Regions from separate parts of the Homo sapiens genome. Here all the other regions are linked to region 3. The links are contacts of gene promoters, found by promoter capture Hi-C in blood cells and fetal thymus (Javierre and others, 2016). All regions are on one chromosome and are shown on one strand. Each heading gives the region's core, a stretch centred on a gene start or on the middle of the fragment in contact. The rest is flanking DNA. Distances are from core to core; before and after follow the strand shown. Region 1 overlaps CAPZA1 (capping actin protein of muscle Z-line subunit alpha 1). Region 2 holds the start of RHOC (ras homolog family member C). Region 3 holds the start of NRAS (NRAS proto-oncogene, GTPase).

Region 1 (3,193 bases), core at 455-2,954, 2.1 Mb before region 3:
TGCTCATAAACGTACCTCTAAGGCTTCCTTCCCTTCTGTGTCCCACTTCTTCTGTCCCCTACTGTAGCTTTGTGAGATTCGCTCCTGAATAAACTACTTTTTCTCTAATCTTTGTCTTGGGGTCTCCTTCTGGGAAGGTGCAACCTAAGACAGCATACTGTTCTGTTTCTGTTAACAAAATATCTTAGTAGCCTAGCGCTCTAGATCTCTTGTAACTGTGGCATTAGCATTAACTTCCTAGAACCATGGTATCAGCATTGTAGAAGCTTATTGTAAATTTTGTGTAAATAAATTTTACTTTGTTTCTAGATGGAAACAGCCATTTGTATTTTAGCTCTGCCAGTGCAAACCTATAAAATAAGAGCACACATCACAAAGGGTGATAATTTATGGTAAGATTCAAAATACAGCCCAGTGTACAGACCCACATTTAAACCTTTTTAAGCACAGATTGAGCACACTTTTGGGGAAAGCTTATTTCATTTACATATCTTTTAAATTTTGGAGTGAGAATTATTTGGAAAAGTCGTTAAGATATTTAGCCTTTCAGGCTAGTCTATAGGCAAAAACATCGTTCTGAGAAGGCAACAATTTCTGAGGATTTATGTTGATGACAATCATGTTGAAATTTGTGTTAGTTAATTGAACCATTTTCATATTAGCAGATGAGACCTAGAAAAGGTCTTAGAACACATAAGTTTTGAGCTTAATTTCTTTCTTGAAACGGTGTATCTCAACTCTGTCACCTAGGCTGGAGTGCAGTGGTGCTTTCATAGCTCACTGCAACCTCAAACTCCTCAACTAAATGATCCTCCCACCTCATCCTCCCAAGCACCTAGTGCTACAAGCACATACCACTGTACCTGGCCAACTTTTTTTATTTTTTTGTAGAGTCGGGGTCTCACTATATTGCCCAGGCTGGGTTAATTTCTAAAAATTATAATAACATTAGTGTATTAGGTAATGAAATTAATATTTTTTAGAATTTTTCTTTTTTTTTTTTTTTTTTTTTGAGACAGAGTCTCGCTCTGTTGCCCAGGATGGAGTGCAGTGGCAGGATCTCGGCTCACTGCAAGCTCCACCTCCCGGGTTCATGCCATTCTCCTGCCTCAGCCTCCTGAGTAGCTGGTACCACAGGCGCCCGCCACCATACCTGGCTAATTTTTTGTATTTTTAGTAGAGACAGGGTTTCACTGTGTTAGCCAGGCTGGTCTCGAACTCCTGACCTTGTGATCCGCCTCCCTCAGCTTCCCAAAATGCTGGGATTACAGGCGTGAGCCACTGCGCCTGGCCCTAGAATTTTTCATTGAGATCAAAAACAGTGAGGCTTATTGACCTTACCCTATATTCCTTTCCATGTCCTAATTAAAAAACATAACAGAAGTTCAAACTAATTGTATAGTCTTTATTCTCGAACAAAAAGAATGTGCTCTGCATACCTCCTCTCTTTAGACAAGTTCTGAGAAATACAGAAGTTCTTGTTTCTTCTATGGCCAGATCTGTTGTTGTTTTTTTAAATATCTCCCATCCTGTTTGTAATAATTCCCCCCTGCCCCCTTTTTGTTTTGTTTTGTTTTTTGAGATGGAGTCTTGCTCTGTCGCCAGGCTGGAGTGCAGTGACACGACCTTGGCTCATTGCAACGTCCGCCTCCTGGGTTCAAGCGATTCTCCTGCCTCAGTCTCCCAAGTAGCTGGGCGTACAGGCGCATGCCACCACGCCCAGCTAATTTTTTGTATTTTTAGCAGACACCGGGTTTCACTGTGTTAGCCAGGATGATCTTGATCTCCTGACCTCGTGATGCGCCTACCTTGGCCTCCCAAAGTGCTGGGATTACAGGCGTGAGCCACTGCACCCGGCTCATTCCCCTTTTGAATGTTCTTTTCAGTCCCTGAACCTCTAGTTTTTTTAATGAAAAAACAAACAAAACTGATATTTGATTGTGACCTACTTGTATTTTAAATATTCTTATCTATTGGGATTTTAACCTTTATATGTCATCATCATTTAGCCCAGTCTTTTTTGCCCACATCTTTGCTGTTCTGATTTTACATGTAAGTATTAGTGGTTCTTATTATCACCCTTCTTTTCCATTGGATTCTCATCTTGTCTCCAGTGGATTCCAGTCTCTCTCTGTCACCCAGGCTGGAGTGCAGTGGTGCAATCTCAGTTCACTGCAGCCTCTGCCTCCTGGCTTCAAGTGATTCTCCTGTCTCAGCCTCCCAAGTAGCTGGGATTACAGGCACCTGCCACCATGCCTGCCTAATTTTTTTTGTATTTTTAGTAGAGACAGGGTTTCACCATGTTGGTCAGGCTGGTCTCGAACTCCTGACCTCAAGTGATCTGCCCACCTCGGCCTCCCAAAGTGCTGGGATTAAATGTGTGAGCCACCATGCCTGTTCTCAGTAGATTCTTATATTGTCTTTTCTTCTTTAACCTCTTAGAAAGCCAAAAGGTAAAATTTCAGGGTTTAGAGAGGGTATGGAAAGTCTAGCTTCTCATGCCCATCTGGATAGAGCCAGCTGTTTGTCCTCATTCAAGAAGATACTTGCCGGGCACGGTGGCTCACGCCTGTAATCCCAGCACTTTGGGAAGCCAAAGCAGGGGGATCATGAGGTCAAGAGATCGAGACCAGCCTGGGCAACACAGTGAAACCCCATCTCTGTTAAAAATACAAAAATTAGCTGGCCATGGTGGCACGCACCTGTAGTCCCAGCTACGTGGGAGGCTGAGGCAGGAGAATTGCTTGAACCCAGGAGGCAGAGGTTGCAGTGAGCCGACATCAGCCACTGTGCTCCAGCTTGGGCGACAGAGCGTGACACTGTCTCAAAAAAAAAAAAAAAAAAAGATACTTATTTTTGTCCTTTAAACAAGGATAGGTAGGGGGTTCTTGTTATCCAGGAAAGTCTTTTTGTTGCAAATAGCTTTCTGCCTAGATGAAGCTTGACTGTTAGTTATGCCCTTCTAATGATATCCACAAAGAGTAAGCCCCTGCTGAGACACTATTTCTCCCCAGATCAAGGAATTTCTAACTTTTTGACAAAACATAGCATTGGGAGGTATTACATATGTTGGATAGCTCTGGAATTTGACCTAATTCAAATCCTAGCTCCTCCTCTTACTAGGTGTGTGAACATGGATAAGTTATTGTTTAATAACTGCCTCAAGGCAAACTTCAGTTTCCTCAGCTGTAAA
Region 2 (3,219 bases), core at 76-2,575, 2.0 Mb before region 3:
ACTGGGGTGAAAGCCAGTCACTTAGGCATGAGTATGCCACTGCTGTCCCCCCAGCAGGGTAATTCAGACGGCACCAGAGTGGTGGGAGGCAGAGGACAGAAACCCGGGGTTGAGGCATGCGTTAAGGGACCTGGAGCCTCCAGCCCAATTAGAAGACTTTCCCTCCAGGCTATGATTGGGCCAGAACAGCAGGCAGCCCAGGCCAGGACACTAGGCCCAAGGCCAAGATGGCATGGACAACTCCCTGTGAGAGGCAGCCCCAGAGGGACTGTCCCACTGACCCCTTAAGAGGGGCAACTGAGCCCCACACAGGGCCTGGAATGGAGCCTGGAACTTCTGGGGCCTTCCCCAAGACAAGACAGTGTGGCTACATCAGACCTCTCTCCAATCGCTCTCTTGAATTCCCAGATGATCCAGAGCGGCCGGTTGACTTTGCCGGCCCACCCTACACCTAGGGAAGGAATCCGTTCTGGAGATACCAAGAGATACTGCATTCTCAACTTTAAAACCAGAGTGAGGGCGGGACTCGGCCTCGGGATCCCAGTCCCAAACCCCAGGATACTCTTTCTTGGTTCGAGTATGAAGAAGGAGGATTCTCAATCTCATTTTCTCTCTCTCTCTCTCTCTCTACACACACACACACACACACACACACACACACACCACACACACACACACACACACACACACACACACACACACACACACACACACACACACACACACACACACACACAGAGTTGGATCCTTCCCCATCTCCCTTATCCTCAACACAAGCGGGCTCCAGGAACCGTCCAGGGCGGCGTCCAGACCCTGCCGAGCAGTGGCAGGCCCCAATGGTCACATCCCGCCCCTATTCCCGCCATACCTCCCTCCTGGCCTGGAGGAATTCCCACCCCATCCCACTCTAGGTCCCCTGCGGCCGCCCACCCTGGGGGCTGGGGCGTCTGAGTTGAAGTTCCCTCGCCCCTCGCCCGGCGGGGCAGGTTCCGGGAAGCTGGGAGGAGAAGGGAAGGGGCTCCGACTCGGACCTCAGGAGGCCAGAGCCCCTGCCGGCAGGTCCGGGCCCCCTCGCTGCAGCCCGGGGAGGGGCCGACGCGGTCCGACCACCGCCCAGCCCGGATGCCGACTCCGCTTGGAGGGAACGGGGTCCACGCCCAGGCCGAAGCCCCTCCTCGCACGGGCCCCGATCTCCGGGCCAGCGAGGAAGGGAAAGTGCTCTCCTGGGGACGAGTTCCCAAGACGCCCCACCGCCCGCAGCCCCGGCCCAGGGTACCTTCCGCTCCGCCGCCTCCAGCTGCGCGGCCGGTGCCGGAGGCTCAGACTGACCCCAGGGCCCCGCCCCGCCCTCCTCCAGCGCCGCGGCGGGGAGGGCGGGCCCGGCAGGGGGAGGGTCGGCCGGGGGCGGCCCTTGGCTCGGCCCGCCCCGGCCCCGCGCAGGGCCGCAGCCACCGGCCCCCTCCGCAGGCCGGGGACTGGGGGCCAGGGGCGTCCACCCCTCCAGGTCGGGGAGAGCCACGGGGAGATTCCTGGACTGCGGAGGAGCCGGGCGAGCGGGGGGAGCACGACCCGGGTGGACTCAGACTCTGCCCAGCCTTCAATCCCCTAGGGGAGGACCGGCGTCGGGAAAGTTAAGAGGTGCTCGGGGTGGGGTCAGGAAGGGCCGCTGCTGCCCTCCTGTGGCCAAGCGGCCACCCGCTCCTGCTGCACCTGGGACCTCGCGGGAAGCGGGACTGGGAAAGGGTATCCGCCGGGAGGTCCCAGGGCCCGGCGCGGGTGTGTTGGTTGGGGGGAGATGTCCACCCTCTTGTTCCTAGGATCGTACAGCCCAACGTCATCCCCCAAACTTGAAGACCTCTCAGAGCCGTTCAGACCCAGACCACCGTTCCTCCTCACAATTCGCTTTCTTCCCTGGGCCTGGAATTTCCAGGAGTCCAATTCCTACCTACTCCTCAAAGGGTGCGCCTAGAAATGCTTCTGGATCCCAGCTGTGAATTCTGTTCCCACTCCTAGGTCTGACTTGGCGCATAGGATATTTACCTACACGCGTATCTCCTTTCCCTGTAAGGGAGCTGAGGAGGTGGGAGTAGAATGAGGACGTCCACCAACATTTCATTGGCTTGTGCTTGGGACACTACACAGCTTAACCCTTTCAATATTCATCACAGATCTCTGGGGAAAATATACCCATCCCCTTTTGCCCATAGAGAAGCTGAGGTTCAGAGAAATCAAGTGGCTTACACAACTGTTTTTGACTTGTGACAGCAAGAATTCACACAGCCGGGCCTGTCTGGCTCCAAACTGGTGGTCTGGCCCTGCTACCTCACGGGCTCCTCCAGCCTGTCCCTTCCCCCGTTGTCTAGCAGAGTGAGTGGCACATAATAGGTTGTCAACAAATATTTGATGAATGAATGAATGTTAGGAGTCATACAGACTTTAAATATCTGAAGTGCAATCCAGACATTTGACAAATGTGAAAACAGGTCCGCAGCAGTTTGGCCCCAGGCCTCTTAACTGACTCAATGAACATTTCTCGAGGGTGAACTGAGAGCTATGTTCGGAAGATCCATTTCTGCCTTCAAACAACTTAGAGTCTAAATGAGGAATGCAATTTCAAGATAGCTAACATTTATTGAATCCATATTACATGGACCTGGGTCCACATACATTAACTACAAGAATCCCATGAGGTAGCTATCTCCATTTTACTGAGAAGCAAATTGAGGTTCAGAGAGGTTACAGAGCTAGTGCTGGGTCTGACACTAGAACCCAAACAGCTGAACTCTAGAGCCCCTGTTCTTAATTCCTACTCCCTACTGACTCCTAATGTAGACAGTTACAATACCGGAGGTCATTGCTGTAGTGTGGGCATGTGTGGGCTGTGCGATACCCAGTCCTGAACAACAGGTGAAGTTCTCAAGATAAGGTGATGTGTAGATTTTTTTAATTTTAATTTTTTTTTGAGACAAGGTCTCTGTTGCCTAAGTGTGCAGTGGCAAGATCTCAGCTCACTGCAGCCTCAACTTTCCAGGCTCCAATGATTTTCCCACTTCAGCTTCCCCAGCAGCTGAGACTACAGGCGTGTACCATCACACCTAATTTTTGTATTTTTTGTACAGATGAGGTCTTGCTATATTGCCCAGGCTGGTGAGGGGCCTTTTCTAATTATTTTGCTCATCTTTATTTTTGCTTCCCTTAACTTACTTTGGGTTTAATTTG
Region 3 (3,446 bases), core at 947-3,446:
CATATAAAAAATACTTTCATTTTGGTTTTATGGCAACAGGACTTTTACTTGTATTTTAATGTCATCACACTTGGAGAACTCTCTGGAGTACTGGAAGTGCTCTATACTGTTATCTGGGTGGTAGCTACATGACTATATAGAAACGCAAAAAGCACTGGGCTGTAGACATAAAATTTATGTATTTTACTTATGTAAATTGCTCAATAAATCAAACATTTAAAAATATTTAATTAAAATATTAAACATTTCATGTAAAATATTAAAGCTGTTAAGCTCAAAATAAAGATTTTGCCAAGGGTTAGCAACCAATTTTTTATAGTGGCTACATTAGAGTTAGTTTTCATCAATTAAACACGAGTAGCCAGATGGTAGGGAGGCCAGGTGTTGATTAAAATAATCTCTAAAGTTAGGCATTTCTAAACTGAACAAAATTACAAAACCCTTTATTTATTTATCTATTTATTTATTTTTTGAGACGAAGTCTCGCTCTGTTGCCCAGGCTGGAGGTCTGTGGTGTGATCTCGGCTCACTGCACCCTCTGCCTCTGGTTCAAGCGATTCTCCTGCCTCAGCCTCCTGAGTAGCTGGGATTACAGGTGCCTGCCACCACACCCAGCTAATTTTTGTATTTTTAGTAGAGACGGGGTTTCACCATGTTGATCAGGCTGGTCTTGAACTCCTGACCTTGTGATCCGCCTGCCTCAGCCTCCCAAAGTGCTGGGATTACAGGCGTGAGCCACCGTGTCCGGCAAAACCCTTTATTTAAAGAGCCTTAGGTGCCACTTACTGAAGACAATCTGTACCATGAACTCTCATAATAACAATAGAATCCCTAAGTACTATTACATAGTGCTTTACCATTCATAAATAACTTAAATATATTATTTAACTTTCCATAACATCCCTGTGTGGTAGGCAGGACAAGTTTATGGTAATTTAAAACATGAGGAAAATGAGGTTGGGAGAGATTCAGTTGCTCAATATCACACAACTAAATAAACTGCAAACAGGGACCAAAATCCTAGGCATAAAGACTAAAAATCTCAAGTTCTTGCTACTCCAATCATCTGGTCTCAGCTGCTTCAACTAGCTAATAAATAAATATTGAAGAACACTCATCTCTGAATCCTTTATCTCCATCCTATTATCTCCCATACAATCAGACAGTCTCGCTACTATGGCCTGTGTTTCTCATGTAATAGAGCTGTTATATATGAAGAAACTCATGAATGAACTCAACACTGAGTTTGCAATAGTTTACAGAACTGTTAAAAACTGGACAGGTTTTAGAAACTTCAGCAGCTAATAAAAATGAACTGTTCTCTATAAACACGTTAAGCTTATTGCATAACTGAATGTATACCCAAAATAACTTTTTACTTTCTCTCCTCTTATTCCTTTAATACAGAATATGGGTAAAGATGATCCGACAAGTGAGAGACAGGATCAGGTCAGCGGGCTACCACTGGGCCTCACCTCTATGGTGGGATCATATTCATCTACAAAGTGGTTCTGGATTAGCTGGATTGTCAGTGCGCTTTTCCCAACACCACCTGCTCCAACCACCACCAGTTTGTACTCAGTCATTTCACACCAGCAAGAACCTGTTGGAAACCAGTAATCAGGGTTAATTGGCGAGCCACATCTACAGTACTTTAAAGCTTTCTATAATCAATGGAAATGAAAACCCTAGTGTGACCTTCCATTTGGTTCTTAAAGTGACTAGAGAACGCAAAAACACCGGATTAATATCGGCCTCACACTTCTGGAGTAGTTTTCTAGCAACCCCCATCCTTAGCTATTTTTCAACAGTCCTTGGGCCCCGCCCTCAGCCTAAGCAATGGAAATCCCCCTTCCTATTACTCCCCGAAGGCTTCTCAGCTCTAGCAGGAAGCCTCCAGGCCGCAACTCCTTCCCATTCTCCCTTCTGTCTCCAAAGATCTCCCCACGTAGGCACCAAATGGAAGGACCCCCGCCCAAGGCCTTTGTCTCCAGCTGATAGATTCTGCTCCATTTCTGGCATCAGTGAAACGCCTGAACATTCCACAGCCCAAAGCCGAACACTATGCATGAGATAAACTTACCTCAAGCTCCACTGCCTCTGCTTTGGACAGATTTAGGACCACAGCCGGGAAAAATGTTGGAGACCCCGGAACCGCCATGAACAGCCCCCACCAAGGAGCGGCACTTCCGGCCCCGCCCGCTACGTAATCAGTCGGCGCCCCAGGCGCCTGAGTCCCCGCCCCGGCCACGTGGGCCTCCGAACCACGAGTCATGCGGCAGGCCGCACCCAGACCCGCCCCTCCCACACGGGACGTTTCAATAATGAAAGCGCTAGGTGCTAGTGTCTCAAAAATCAGTAAAACTTTATTCGCTTCCATTCTTTCGCCATTAACAGAAAACTGGAGAAAGCAAAAATGTTTCGTGTTTACAAAGATAAACGGCCTCTTTACCCAGAGATCAAAACCTCAAACGACAAGGGGGAAGATAAAACCGCCCTCCCCCACATCCCCTGAGCTGACCCTTGTCATCTTAGACAAAGCCTTCAGTCCACTGGCCAGGGACCCTGTATATGGCCAATTCAAGAAGAGGGCCAAGAAATCAGACCCATCCATTCCCGTGATATAAAGTTGAACAGAAGCTACACCAAGGGTCAAGTGTCTGTATTTTACAGGACACAGTAACCAGGCGGCTACTTATAAAAAAAAACAAGATTCATTTCAGGCACAACTTTTTTATTTTTTTTTGTTTTGTTTTTAAATCAGTAAAAGAAACCGGGTCCTAGAAGCTGCAGTGATCTAAGCAGCAGCAAGTTTGTGCATTCATTTTTTTTGTTTTTGTTTAAATATGTTTAAATTATCACACTGCTGGCACTCCTCATTTGCATGAAATTCTGCACCATACTTACTAATTGTAGTAAAGTTACCCCCCAACCCACGAAAAAAAACCTACTCTGGAAGAAAATTTTCACTGAAATATAACCAAACTTCTTTAAGTGGATTGTGACAAGATTATAAATGATATGAAAAATAACATTTTAAAATTTGGCCATCAACTTTAAGAAATGGTTTGCCTATACAAATTTTTGTAATTTTTAAAAGATAATATATTCTACCCTCATATGGTCCTCAGAATTAAAGCATAATGAACAGGAAGAAAAAGGAAAAGAATGCAACTGAGTGCTAAGGCAGAACATCTTGCCAGAAGTAATTAATGAAGGTAGAGTATATAATGAAAAGTGCAGAATTTCATAGGGCCAACAAGATAACAGTCTATATTTTTCACTTACACAGGCAAAGTGGATTCTGCAATTACCAGTTGCGTTAAATGCACCAAATAAAGCTCCTAAAATTGATACTATAAGGCGCCACCTTAAGTTTTTCCAGGCTGCAACTGTGCATTATTTAAAATGGTTTTCTTAAATTTATTTATTTTTTTAAACATAAC

Evidence for each region. Contacts are between HindIII fragments. The CHiCAGO score rates a contact against its expected background, and 5 or more counts as called.
Region 1: a fragment that was not itself captured here is called in contact with the fragment with the promoter of NRAS in region 3 in 1 of 17 cell types (monocytes); the score reaches 5.4 in monocytes.
Region 2: a contact is called between the fragment with the promoter of RHOC here and the fragment with the promoter of NRAS in region 3, in 2 of 17 cell types (activated CD4 T cells and total B cells). The highest score is 7.0, in activated CD4 T cells.

The regions. Positions count from the first base shown.
Region 1 is chr1:112,661,405-112,664,597 of GRCh38, forward strand. All of the region lies in intron 7 of CAPZA1 (capping actin protein of muscle Z-line subunit alpha 1), which reads left to right. Among named protein-coding and RNA genes, the nearest start is that of MOV10, 12 kb to the right of the region's middle. The HindIII fragment of the contact is 2,467 bases long and covers 472-2,938 here.
Region 2 is chr1:112,705,802-112,709,020 of GRCh38, forward strand. It overlaps RHOC (ras homolog family member C), which reads right to left and starts at 1,326. Exons shown (of 6, transcript NM_175744.5): 1 at 1,277-1,326. RefSeq lists a silencer at 1,046-1,765. The HindIII fragment of the contact is 12,151 bases long and covers 1-3,219 here.
Region 3 is chr1:114,714,575-114,718,020 of GRCh38, forward strand. It overlaps NRAS (NRAS proto-oncogene, GTPase), which reads right to left and starts at 2,197. Exons shown (of 7, transcript NM_002524.5): 1 at 2,084-2,197; 2 at 1,476-1,603. The coding sequence starts at 1,586. CSDE1 (cold shock domain containing E1) reads right to left here. Exons shown (of 20, transcript NM_001007553.3): 20 at 2,342-3,446. RefSeq lists enhancers at 1,893-1,992, 2,003-2,202. The HindIII fragment of the contact is 3,751 bases long and covers 1,659-3,446 here.